Linked DNA regions of Homo sapiens: regions 1 and 3 are each linked to region 2. Evidence: promoter capture Hi-C in 16 types of primary human blood cells and fetal thymus (Javierre and others, 2016). All regions are on one chromosome and are shown on one strand. The core of a region is centred on a gene start or on the middle of the fragment in contact, and the rest is flanking DNA. Distances in the headings are between cores, read along the strand shown.

Region 1 (4,034 bases), core at 1,137-3,636, 170 kb before region 2:
TGAGGTTCTGGAACGTCTTTAGCAAAACCCGTTCGACAAAGGTAAAGTGGGTCGGTATCAGCGCCACTCGCCCCCGCCCCAGCCTGTCCCAGGGTCGTCCCTGTCCCCACTGTCCTCGGGCGTACCCTCCTCTGGGTTCCCCCACTTCCGAGCTTCCCTCACCTCAAATTCTGGGTCATGTGTCGGGGCAGTGTGGCAGGCCGAGGCTGAACTGGCACCTCCCAGCCCCTCAGGACCAAGCCCCAAAGCCTTGGGGACCCTCCAGGCAGCTTCCTCCCTGGGCCTGCGGCTCAGCGCATCTGCCATCCCCATGTGTCTGCAGGAGTCTGTGTCTGTGCTCAACCTCTTCACCAGGATCCGGTAAACCTGCCGGGCAGGACCGTGCCACACCAGCTGTCCAGAGTCGGAGGACCCCAGCTCCTCAGCTTGCATGGACTCTGCCTTCCCAGCGCTTGTCCCCCGAGGAAGGCGGCTGGGCGGGCGGGGAGCTGGGCCTGGAGGATCCTGGAGTCTCATTAAATGCCTGATTGTGAACCATGTCCACCAGTATCTGGGGTGGGCACGTGGTCGGGGACCCTCAGCAGCAGGGGCTCTGTCTCCCTTCCCAAAGGGCGAGAACCACATTGGACGGTCCCGGCTCAGACCGTCTGTACTCAGAGCGACGGATGCCCCCTGGGACCCTCACTGCCTCCGTCTGTTCATCACCTGCCCACCGGAGCCGCATGCTCTTCCTGGAACTGCCCACGTCTGCACAGAACAGACCACCAGACGCCAGGGCTGATTGGTGGGGGCCTGAGACCCCGGTTGCCCATTCATGGCTGCACCCCACCATGTCAAACCCAAGACCAGCCCCAAGGCCAGACCAAGGCATGTAGGCCTGGGCAGGTGGCTCGGGGCCACTGGCGGAGCCAGCCTGTGGATCCAAGAGACAGTCCCCACCTGGGCTTCACGGCATCCTTGCAGCCACCTCTGCTGTCACTGCTCGAAGCAGCAGTCTCTCTGGAAGCATCTGTGTCATGGCCATCGCCCGGCGGTCAGTGGGCTTCAGATGGGCCTGTGCATCCTGGCCAAGCGTCACCCTCACACTGGAGGAGGATGTCTGCTCTGGACTTATCACCCCAGGAGAACTGAACCCGGACCTGCTCACTGCCCTGGCTGGAGAGGAGCACAACAGATGCCACGTCTTCGTGCATTCGCCAACACGTGCCCTCACAGGGCCAGCGTCCTCCTTCCCTGCGCAAGACTTGCGTCCCCCATGCCTGCTGGGTGGCTGGGTCCTGTGGAGGCCAGCAGCGGTGTGGCCCCCGCCCCCAGGCTGCCTGTGTCTTCACCTGTCCTGTCCACCAGCGCCAACAGCCGTGGGGAAGCCAAGGAGACCCAAGGGGTCCAGGAGGTGGGCGCCCTCCATCCTTCGAGAAGCTTCCCAGGCTCCTCTGCTTCTCTGTCTCATGCTCCCAGGCTGCACAGCAGGCAGGGAGGGAGGCAAGGCAGGGGAGTGGGGCCTGAGCTGAGCACTGCCCCCTCACCCCCCCACCACCCCTTCCCATTTCATCGGTGGGGACGTGGAGAGGGTGGGGCGGGCTGGGGTTGGAGGGTCCCACCCACCACCCTGCTGTGCTTGGGAACCCCCACTCCCCACTCCCCACATCCCAACATCCTGGTGTCTGTCCCCAGTGGGGTTGGCGTGCATGTGTACATATGTATTTGTGACTTTTCTTTGGATTTGTTTTGTGTTTTTGTTGACTAGTCCTGGAAATGTTTGAGGCTAGACGGGGAGGGGCCAGGACCCACCCACTGCTCCTGGGGGATGAGGTCCTGGTTTTAAAGCCCCGTCATTTCAAGCGGGTCGATCTTCCACATTCACTGGAGAGACTCTCCCCACCTCTGTCTGGGTGGGGCGCGGACCCCTCACTGTGCGCCTGTGCAGGGGGTGCTGGTGCACGTGGCAGTGTGGATTTCCAGTGGTCACGGTCTTACTGTTTCAAGGTTTTTAAATAAGAAAACCAACCCTGCCTTCGCCCATGCCCGCCCCTGCCCGCAGTTGCCAAAGAGCCGCCTTGTCGCTGTGGGCGTCAGGGCTTGGCTGGCTCAGTGCACAACCCACAGTGGCCTTCAGAGGCTCCTCCTGGGACTGGGAACCGCCGCAGGGCCAGGCGGACGGCGTGAGGTTTGTGTTGGGGCTGGTTCTGCCCATGCTAGGGGGTGGGGGAGCTCCCAGGACAGACCAGCCTTGTTTCTCATGTAATGCAGTGACGCTGTCATTAAACACGTGGATTCATGTGTGGCCGGGACTGGCTGGCTCTAGGTCCCCGGCTCGGGTGGGGTCACACGGTCCTGCCCTAGAGTCCCCATCTGGCCCTGGAGCTGCAGAAGCAGCTTCTGAGGGGCTTCCCAGGCCTGCATTTCACAGATGGGGAGCTCAGCCCTCGAAGGCCGCAGAGACGCCTCCCAGGCCCGTCTGCCAGGGCGCCGGCCACAATCCTGCAGGGCCAAGGACTGGACTCCAGGCAAGTCCCTGCGCTCCAGCTGGACGGCCCTGTTCCAGGGAGGAGGTGCTCGGTTGACACCATCAGGGAGGGAGGGTGGGCACTGCTGGGCTGAGTTCACCCCCAGGGCTGGCCAGATGGGGCCAGGAGGGACAGAGCAAGGGGGGTGAAGGCCGTGGTGGGAGGGTCCCATGATGATGGGCCAGGGCTCGTGTAGAAATGGGGGAATTGGTTCCCCATGGCCCAGGACAGCTGAGAGGAGGTGGAGGGGCCCCAGGGGAGTGTACGTCAGGCTTTGCGGGGCACGGGGGCCACTCAGCAGCGCTGGGGCAGGTGCCTCTGCTGTCAGCTCCACCCGACAGGCAGACGAAGGCCAGTGGGGCCATCGCTTCCTGGGGCGACCCTGGCAGTGGTTGGGAGACGCCCAGATGGAGGGGGAGGCTGACCAAGGGCCCCGCAGGGCGGGCTGCAACTTTTCTGTTGATCCTGGAATGTAGCTGGTGCAGTGAGAGGGAAAGAGAATTGAAAAACTCAGGCTGCCATAGGTTCTGCGATGAGAGGTGCAGGAGGCAGGAGCCTGGCCCAGGGGGTGCTGGTGCCTCCCCGGGGTCTGGGCGGAGAGAACAGGAGGAATGGCTGGGAAGTGGCTGAGGGAGCCAGGAGGCCGGGGGGCCGGGGGCTGCAGGGGAGGCTGTGGGGGTCCTGGCAGCCAGGAGGCCCCAGGTGGTTTTGAGGCTCGCTCTTGCGCGGTGCCTGAGAAGAGGGTGAAGGAGCTGGGGCAGGCCCCATCCTGGGCATTGGAGATGATGAAACCGAGCAGACCTGGCCCATGTGGAGCTGGCATGGGGGACACAGCCCAGAGACAGAGAAGCTTATGAGGAAGTGAGGAGGTGGCGTCACAAGGGTGGGGAGGGGGCCTTGGGGAAGGGCGGCCTTGGATCAGAGGCTCACCACAAGCCTGGCATTTCAGCCAGGGCTGGAGAAGGCAGGGACGCCTGGGTGAGAGGCAAAGGGCACAGCCATGCAAAGGCCCTGGGGCAGGACGGCACCTGGTATGCGGGAGGAACAGAGTGAGGAGAGGAGGGCAGGGCGTGCAGGGCCTTGTGGGCCTCAGGGAGGACTTGGGCACCTACGCCGAGGGAGTGGAGCTCCTGGGTGCGTGTCCAGATGGGAAAGGCAGGGTCGTATCTGTGGGGACCTGACAAGGGCAGGGGAAGCGGAGACCAGGGTGCAGGCTCCGCCCCCACCCAAGGCCGGGCCCAGCCAGAGGAGGGGCAGGGCAGGGCAGGAGGTTTCTGGATGTTTGTTGGGTTTGGTTTGGTTTTGTTTTGTTTTGTTTATTGTGGTAAAATACAAAATCTACCGTCTTACAGTGAGGTGGCGTTCAGTACCTTCACCACGCCGTGCAGCCATCCCATCTGATTCCAGAACATTCTCATCACCCAGAAGGCAGCCCTGTCCCCATTATGTCACCTAGTCACCCCCAGGTCCCCCTCCCCAGTCCCGGCACCCACGAATCCTCTCCCTGATTCTGTGGATTGGTCTGTC
Region 2 (4,141 bases), core at 1,543-4,042:
TGCTGGAGGTTAGATCATTGATGAGGATAATGAAGAGGAAATATACTTAAAAAAAATTACTAAAACTGGCTGAACAGTCATGACTTACAGACGCAAAAGTCAACATCAAAACAAGCAGTTAAAAGCAGCCTCTTGGCCGGGCGCGGTGGGTCACGCCTGTAATCCCAGCACTTTGGGAGGCAGAGGTGGGTGGATCACCTGAGGTCAGGAGTTTGAGACCAGCCTGGCCAACATGATGAAACCCCACCTCTACTGAAAATACCAAAAAAGTAGCCAGGCGTAGTGGCACATGCCTGTAATTCCAGCTACTCGGGAGGCTGAGGCAGGAGAATCGCTTGAACCCGGGAGGCAGAGGTTGCAGTGAGCCGAGATGGCGCCACTGCACTCCAGCCCGGGAGACAGAGTGAGACTCCGTCTCAAAACACAAAAACAAACAAACAAACAAAAAACTTAAAAAAAAGAAAACTAGGGCAGGGATGGGGTGACAGGAGGGGAGAGGCAAGGGACAGAGAGGAGGGGCTGGGGTCCGGGAGAGCCACCAGCCTTCTGTGCCTTCCCCGCATCCCCCCACGCCCCTGGTTGGCTGTCCCCATTACGCAGGGTGGAAAACCGAGGCTGCCCGGCGGGGGCCGGTTGCGTGGTTTCTGGCGCCGCCTGGTGGCCATAGTGGCTACTACCGTCAGCAGGAGGTACTGCAGGCTGGAGGGACCCTAGTCCATTCATTCCAAAAACATGTATTGAGCACCTACTGTGTACCAGGCACTGTGCTAGGCCATAGGACACGGCAGGGATGAGCACGACAAAGTCCATGACCTCTGTGAGGTGGCATTTTAATATTTATTTATTTATTTTTCAGCCAGCGTCTTGCTCTGTCTCCCAAGCTGGAGTGCAGTGGCGCGATCTCGGCTCACTGCAACCTCTGCCTCTGGGGCTCAAGCGATTCTCCCGTCTCAGCCTCCTGAGTAGCTGGGATTACAGACGCATGCCACCTTGCCCGGCTAATTTTTGTATTTTTAGTAGAGATGGGGTTTCACCATGTTGGCCAGGCTGGTCTCGAACTCCTAACTCAAGCAATTCTCCCACCTCAACCTCCCAAAGTGCTGGGATTACAGGGGTGAGCCATTGAGCCCAGACTTAATTTTTTAAATTTTAATTTTAATGTACTGGTAAAGATGGGGGGGTGTCTCACTATGTTGCCCAGACTGGTCTCGAATTCCTGGCCTCAAGTGATCCTGCCACCTTGGCCTCCAAAGTACTGAGATTATAGGTGTGAGCCATCATGCCCAACCCTTCCTGGTTAATTTTATTTTATTGAGATAGGATCTTGCTCTGTCACCCAGGTTGGAGTGCAGTGGCACAGTCATAGCTCTCTGCAGCCTCAACCTCCCAGGGTCAATTGATCCTCCCACCTCAGCCTCCTGAGTTTCTGGGACTACAGGTGTGTACCACCACATCTGGCTAATTTTTAAAAAAGTTTTCTGGGCTGGGCGTGGTGGCTCACGCCTGTAATCTCAGCACTTTGAGAGGCCAAGGCAGGCGGATCACCTGAGGCCAGGAGTTCAAGACCAGCTTGGCCAATATGGTGAAACTCCGTCTCTACAAAAATACAAAAATTAGCTGGGCATGATGGCTGGTGCCTGTAATGCAATCCCAGCTACTCGGGAGGCTGAGGCAGGAGAATCACTTGAAACCGGGAGGCAAAGGTTGCAGTGGGCCGAGATCAAGCCATTGCACTCCAGCCTGGGCAACATAGCAAGACTCTGTCTCAAAAAAATAAAAAAAAAATAAAATAAAAACAAAAAACAAAACAAAACCAACAACAGCCAGCAGCAACAACAAAAAAACTTTTCTAGGCCAGGCTCGGTGGCTCACGCCTGTAATCCCAACACTTTGGGAGGCCGAGGCGGGCAGATCACTTGAGGTCAGGAGTTTGAGACCAGCCTGGCCAACATAGGAAAACCCCGTCTCTACTGAAAAAAAAAAAAAAAATTAGCTGGGCGTGGTGGTGCACGCCTGTAATCCCAGCTACTTGGGAGGCTGAGGCAGAAGAATCACTTGAACCCAGGAGGCGGAGGTTGCAGTGAGCCGAGATCGCGCCACTGCACTCCAGCCTGGGTGACAGAGGGAGACTCCATCTCAAAACAAACAACAAACAAAAGATATATAAAAATTTTTCTAGAGATGGGTTTCACCGTGTTACCCAGGCTGGTCTCAAATTCCCAGGCTCAAGTGATCCTCCCACCTCGGCCTCCCAAAGTGCTGGAATTACAGGTGTGAGCCACCACACCTGACCCTTTCTTGTTTTTTAGATGAGGACAGCAAGAAGCCCCTGTAATTTGCCCAAAGCCACACAGCGGGGAAGTGGCAGAAGCTTCTGTACGTAGGAACCCAGTCACTTCGTAGCAGAGAGGCAGACTGCGCACAGATCTGCGTGGGGAAGGGAGTGCGCCAAGCCACAGCCTGATGGGCCGGCGTGCCTGGCAGGAGGCTCAGCAAGCACAGAGACTGGGCAGCTCCAGATGCAAGAAGCAGGAGGGAGGGGGACTCCGGGAGTGCGGTCCATTCATGTCTGAATGTAGCCAACGAGGGTTTCCTAAGCACCTACCATGTGCGGACGCTTGATACCAGGGCCTCGGCGGTGAGGGCACAGGCAGGAGCAAGCTCACCTCTGGGCAAGCAGGGGTTAAGGCCAGTTGCTCCCACGTGAGGGCACCTTGCGACAGAGCCACACACCCAGTCCTCCTGCTGGCCCGCCCCTCACCCTGGTCCGTCTCCCTGTGTCTGTGGTCGTCAGTTCCACTGGCAGGGGACCTGCCTCCCTGTTGCCACCACAAGAGAGGAAAAGTTGGTCAAACAGGTGGGGAGGCCAGAGCTACAAGCCTCGGGTTCCCTCCCCACCACCCGTGCCAGGCAGGCACCCGGGCCCTGGCACCTGCTGCCTGCCCAGAGGCCACCCAGCCTCCTAGACAGGTAAGTCCCCCGCCCCACTGTGCTTTTCCACCCAGTGTGCATTGTCTGAGCTGGCCTTCCCCAGCTGAGGGTCCTTAGACTCCCCCCCAACCTCCCCCACCACGAGCTGTCTCCCCGGCTCCTCGGAAAGCAGGAAACTGACACTCCTGCGTGGGCATCTGACATAGTTTCGTAGGGATTATCTGACCGGCAGTTACTGCACCTGGCGGCCTGCCCAGGACGCTGAGCTGGAAACTTAAAAGGGTCATTGTTACCTAGGTGGCGCAGGGACCGGGGAGGCGGCAAAGGGGCACAGGTTGGTCTCTGATCCCCCTAACTGAGGAGGGGAGGGGATATCAGTCCAGACGGAGCCTGGGTTTACCTCCTGCAGCCCGAGGCTAGGAGGTGACAGGTGGGAAAGGCTGCGACCTCACTCATCTCTGAGCCTCCTGGAACTTCTTAAAAGGCTCCCAAGTTTTGAAACAACTGCGTCTCCCGCCCCCCAACCCCTCACCCTGTTCTCACCGCTGGAACCTCCAGGAGCTTTGCAGGGAGGGATTGGGGTGGCCTTTCTTTTGCTAATTTTTTTTTTGAGACGGAGTTTTGCTCTTGTTGCCCAGGCTGGAGTGCAGTGGTGCGATCTTGGCTCACTGCAACCTCTGCCTCCACCTCTGCCTCCCGAGTAGCTGGGATTACAAGCGCCCACCACTATGCCCAGCTAATTTTTGTATTTTTAGTAGAGATGGGGTTTCACCATGTTGGCCAGGCTGGTCTCGAACTCCTGACCTCAGGTGATCCAACCCCCTCGGCCTCCCAAAGTGCTGGGATTACAGGCGCAAGCCACTGCGCCCAGACTTCTTTTTCTAATCTTTACTCCTCCGAGCAAAATCTCTGTGGGATGGGGCAGAGGGGAAGGAGGAAGGAGCGCTCAGAGCCAGAGAGGGGAGGGGTCGGCAGCAAAAGTGTTTTTCTGGGTCATTTGCTCCCAAATGGGAAGACCAAGGGAGCTTCCTCGTGAGCCAAGTGTCCGATTGCATCTCAAGTCTCTCTCCAGAACCAAGAGGGTCCCCCGGGGCCGAGGAGGCATGGATGATCGCATAGTGGGGGACAGAGCGGCCCGGCATTTGGGGTCACCTTGTGGCTGTGTGGCTGCAGAGCTCCCAGGGAGCAGGCTTGCTTGAGATTCGGGAGT
Region 3 (4,061 bases), core at 1,205-3,704, 190 kb before region 2:
AGGGTGCTGAGCAGCGTCCCTGGCCTCCACCCACTCCACGCCAGGGGCACCCCCAGTCATGACAACCACAGATGTCCCCAGACATCACCATATATCATACCCTGGGGGCAGAATCACCCTGGTTAAGACCCCCTGGGTTATGGGATTCCATGGACCCCCAAGAGACTCTGCGTCCCATGATCCTCTGCCCTGCTGAGGTCCCAGGAGGCTGCACACATTGAAATCCATACCCTGAGTGGGAGGGAGAGAGGAGGTGAATCTCAGGAGCTGGAGTCCCCCTGGTTTGTGCTGTCTGCCCCATCGGAGGCTTATTCTGGTGTCTGGTGTGAGCAGGGGCCGACTCCATTTTTTTCCACATATTTATCCCAGGGCGTCTCCCTCTGTACGGGGGCCCTGTCACTGTTTTGTCAGGTGACTGGGTCATGCCCATTTCCCAGGGGAACAGGAAGAAGCTCGAGACTGAAGGCTTGCCCGGGGCAGTGGCAGAAGGAGGCCTCCTGGCTCTTCATTCTGGGGCCCAGGGGGTGAAAGGTGGACCTTCCCTATGAGCTGGCCCAGGGGGTTTGCAGGACCCACAGGGCAGTGCCCTGCCAAGGGGATGGGGCAGCAGGAAGCCCGGTGGCCCAGGGCCCGGGTCCACCACCCAGACCAGGGCAACCAAGCTGCAGGTGTCGGCCACACAGGCAGAGCCACAGCAGCATCCCCACTAGGCACCCCCGGGCCAGGGACAAGAACCTCTGCAGGGCCTGGCGGAGCACGAGTCACTCACTGATTCACTGCTGATGTGCAGCGAGGGTCCGGGTTGCTGCTAAACTCCCTCGACCCGGTCTGAGCCTTTCCACACGGCCACACACGTTGTCTGTGCTCAGGAATTACTTAACAGCAGCTTAAGATCCTGATTTCTCTCTACTCTAACCTTTTACGATGAAACCTTCCGAGCATCCAGCAAAGGAGGGAGAATGCGGTGGTGCCCGGTCTCATCCGGAGCCTGCCTGGCCCATCTCTGACCGTGGTTTGTTTTTTTGAATACCTCACAGTTCACGTGATACAGAATTCTAGAAGTACAGGCCGGGCGCGGTGGCTCACGCTTGTAATCCCAGCACTTTGGGAGGCCGAGGCGGGCGGATCACAAGGTCAGGAGATCGAAACCATCCTGGCTAATACTGTGAAACCCCGTCTCTACTAAAAATACAAAAAATTAGGCACTACAGTGGCGGGCCCCTGTAGTCCCAGCTACTCGGGAGGCTGAGGCAGGAGAATGGTGTGAACCAGGAGGCGGAGCTTGCAGTGAGCAGAGATCGCACCACTGCAGTCCAGCCTGGGTGACAGAGCCAGACTCCGTCTCTAAAAAAAAAAAAAAAAGGAATTCAAGAAGTACAAAACGAGGTGCCAGGAGAAATAAGGCTTCTTTCCTCCCCAATCCTCGTCCTCTCCTTCCTCTCCCCACCCACCCCATGACCAGCCGCTTTTCGAACCTTCTGGGAGCAGTGTGCTCTGCATGGCCATTTTTCTGTGCAGTGGGTCTCACAGCCTCTTCCGCTCCCTGTCTGATGGCCTCTTGCGTCTTCCACTCTGACTAGCTGCCGCAGTGACTCCATCTCTGCACACATGCATGCTGAGTTTCTAAGGATAAATTCTTAGAAGTAGAAATACCGCATCACAGAGGATGTGCATTTTTTAAATTTTGGAAGCAGTTGCCAAATTGCCTTCCTTTGAAGCCGTAGCAGTTTGCAGCTTCTGCCAACCATGAGTGCGTGTGGCTGTCTCTCCCCACGCCTGGGATGGTGAGGCCGAGTCCCCCAGCCCACAGCCTCCCCCACCGTCTGACGGGCGGGAGGGTGGTGTCCTCGGTTGGATTGGCAGCTCCTGACTGCGAGGGAGGACTGGTCCTTTCCCAGTGCGGTTTGTTGGTGTCCTTTGCTACTTTGGGCTCTCCTGTGGGTGGCAGGTGCTTCCCTCAGTTTGTCATCTGTTTTTTAACTGTGTTGGTGGTGTGTCTGCCCTGCGGACTCCCAATTTTCCCGGTGTTGAATTCCACAGCCATGCCTCTTATGGCTCCTGGATTTTGTTCTTCCTGCAGCGCAGCTGAGCGAGGGGCTTAGAGGGGTCGCTGGGGGTCCCGGAGCTGAGCTGAGCACCGCTAGCAGCACCGGGCAAGTGTCCAGGTGAGGTGCCCCGGGAGGCCCCAGGCCCGGGATACAGGACCCTCCAGATCTCGGAGGTGGGAAGACAGTCTGCACACCCGTCTTGTGCACCCCTGCCCTCACTGCAGGGACAGACAGGAGCTGGGTCTCAGGCTGCTGGGCAGGCCTGGGCCCTGTGGTTTTGCCCACCAGCCTTGGGCAGCGTTGAGTGAGTTGTGTGGCCAGTAGACTGACAGCTGCTGCCCACCTGGCAACGTTTGGGCCATTGGCTCACGGCGTCTCTGTTGCCCCGGAGGGCTTGTCAGGTGCAGCCATGTGCTGCTGGGCAGCGATGTGTGCCAGGGGCCGTGTGCAGCTGCAGCTGGCGCCCGGTGTATTTGCTTTCAGTGCTGACTTCAGGGCAGCATCAGTGTTCTGGGGAAGTGGGGGATGATATTTTAGCCAATCACAACCAGACTCTGCCAGCAAGTGCCTCAGTGCACGCGGTTACCACCGCTGCTGCCAGTGACACTTGTTTACATTCTCTCATTCTGGAAAAATGCCAGCTGGGCGCGGTGGCTCACACCTGTAACCCCAGCACTCTGGGAGGCAGAGGCAGGCAGATTGCTTGAGCCCAGAAGTTCGAGACCAGCCTGGGCAACATGGGAAGCCTCCATCTCTACAAAAAATACAAAAAGTGGCTGGGTCTGGTGGAGTACACCTGTGGTCGCAGCTCCTCCAGAGGCTGAGGCAGGAGGATCACTTGAGTCTAGGAGGCAAAGGCTGCAGTAAGCCATAATTGCACCACTGCTCTCCAGCCTAGGTGACAGAGTGAGACCCGGTCTCAAAAATAAAAATCCTGGCTGGGCGCTGTGGCTCACACCTGTAATCCCAGCACTTTGGGAAGCTGAGGCGTGTGGATCACCTGAGGTCAGGAGTTCAAGACTAGCCTGACCAACATGATGAAACCCCCTCTCTACTAAAAATACAAAAAAATAGCTGGGTGTGGTGGTGAGTGCCTGTAATCCCAGCTACTTGAGAAGCTGAGGCAGGAGAATTGCTTGAACCCGGGAGGCAGAGGTTGCAGTGTGCCGAGATTGCACCACTGCACTCCAGCCTGGGCAAAAAGAGTGAGACTCTATCTCAGAAAAATAAATGAATAAAAATTTTAAAAAGATAAAAACTCCAGGGCGCTCCTGTTTGTCCACACTTAGGTCTCTGGAAATGAATTGCATCACCAAGGTCTCTGTGTGAAACAAGATAAACAAAAAAGGGTCATCTGAAATGCTGTGATTTGTAACTAAACAAAGTTCTTTTTTTTTTTTTTTCCTTCCTGAGACAGTGTCTTGCACTGTTGCCCAGGCTGGAGTGCAGTGGTGCGATCTCAGCTCACTGCAGCCTCCACCTCAGCCTCCTGAGTCCTGGGACTACAGATGTATGCCACCACACCCAGCTAACTGTTTCTTTCTTTTTTTTTTTTTTTTTTTTTGAGACAGAGTCTCACTGTGTCACCCAGGCTGGAGTGCAGTGGCACGATCTCTGCTCACTGCAACCTCCGCCTTCCAGGTTCAAGTGATTCACCTGCCTCAGCCTCCCTAGTAGCTAGGATTACAAGCATATGCCACCATGCCCAGCTAATTTTTATTTTTTAGTAGAGACGAGGTTTCACCATGTTGGCCAGGCTGGTGTCGAACTCCTGAGCTCAGGTGATCTGTCCACCTCAGCCCCCCACAGTGCCTCTGTTTGTATTTTTTGTAGAAACGGGGTCTCGCCATGTTGGCTGATCTCAAACTCCTGGTATCCTCCTGCTGTACCTGGCAGCTAAGTTCTTTAACGAGTAAGATTTGCATTACAAAGTTTTTCCATTGTTGGAGAAGGCCTAGCCAAGGGTGCTGAAAGTACAGAAGCCACAAAGGCTCCCACCAGGACACGGGAAGG

What was found. Contacts are between HindIII fragments. The CHiCAGO score rates a contact against its expected background, and 5 or more counts as called.
Region 1: a fragment that was not itself captured here is called in contact with the fragment with the promoter of TJP3 in region 2 in 1 of 17 cell types (endothelial precursors); the score reaches 6.8 in endothelial precursors.
Region 3: a fragment that was not itself captured here is called in contact with the fragment with the promoter of TJP3 in region 2 in 2 of 17 cell types (megakaryocytes and endothelial precursors); the score reaches 5.8 in megakaryocytes.

What each region holds. Positions count from the first base shown.
Region 1 is chr19:3,534,473-3,538,506 of GRCh38, forward strand. FZR1 (fizzy and cell division cycle 20 related 1) reads left to right here. Exons shown (of 14, transcript NM_016263.4): 13 at 1-41; 14 at 323-3,862. The coding sequence ends at 364. It also overlaps a transcript of MFSD12 not described here. Among named protein-coding and RNA genes, the nearest start is that of TEKTIP1, 2.7 kb to the right of the region's middle. The HindIII fragment of the contact is 1,938 bases long and covers 1,418-3,355 here.
Region 2 is chr19:3,705,592-3,709,732 of GRCh38, forward strand. It overlaps TJP3 (tight junction protein 3), which reads left to right and starts at 2,793. Exons shown (of 21, transcript NM_001267560.2): 1 at 2,793-2,970. RefSeq lists enhancers at 2,238-2,901, 2,902-3,563. The HindIII fragment of the contact is 2,818 bases long and covers 2,370-4,141 here.
Region 3 is chr19:3,514,421-3,518,481 of GRCh38, forward strand. All of the region lies in intron 1 of FZR1 (fizzy and cell division cycle 20 related 1), which reads left to right. LOC124904617 (a long non-coding RNA gene) reads right to left here. Exons shown (of 2, transcript XR_007067099.1): 2 at 3,743-4,061. Among named protein-coding and RNA genes, the nearest start is that of FZR1, 10 kb to the left of the region's middle. RefSeq lists enhancers at 1,694-2,520, 2,521-3,345, 3,626-4,061. The HindIII fragment of the contact is 8,857 bases long and covers 1-4,061 here.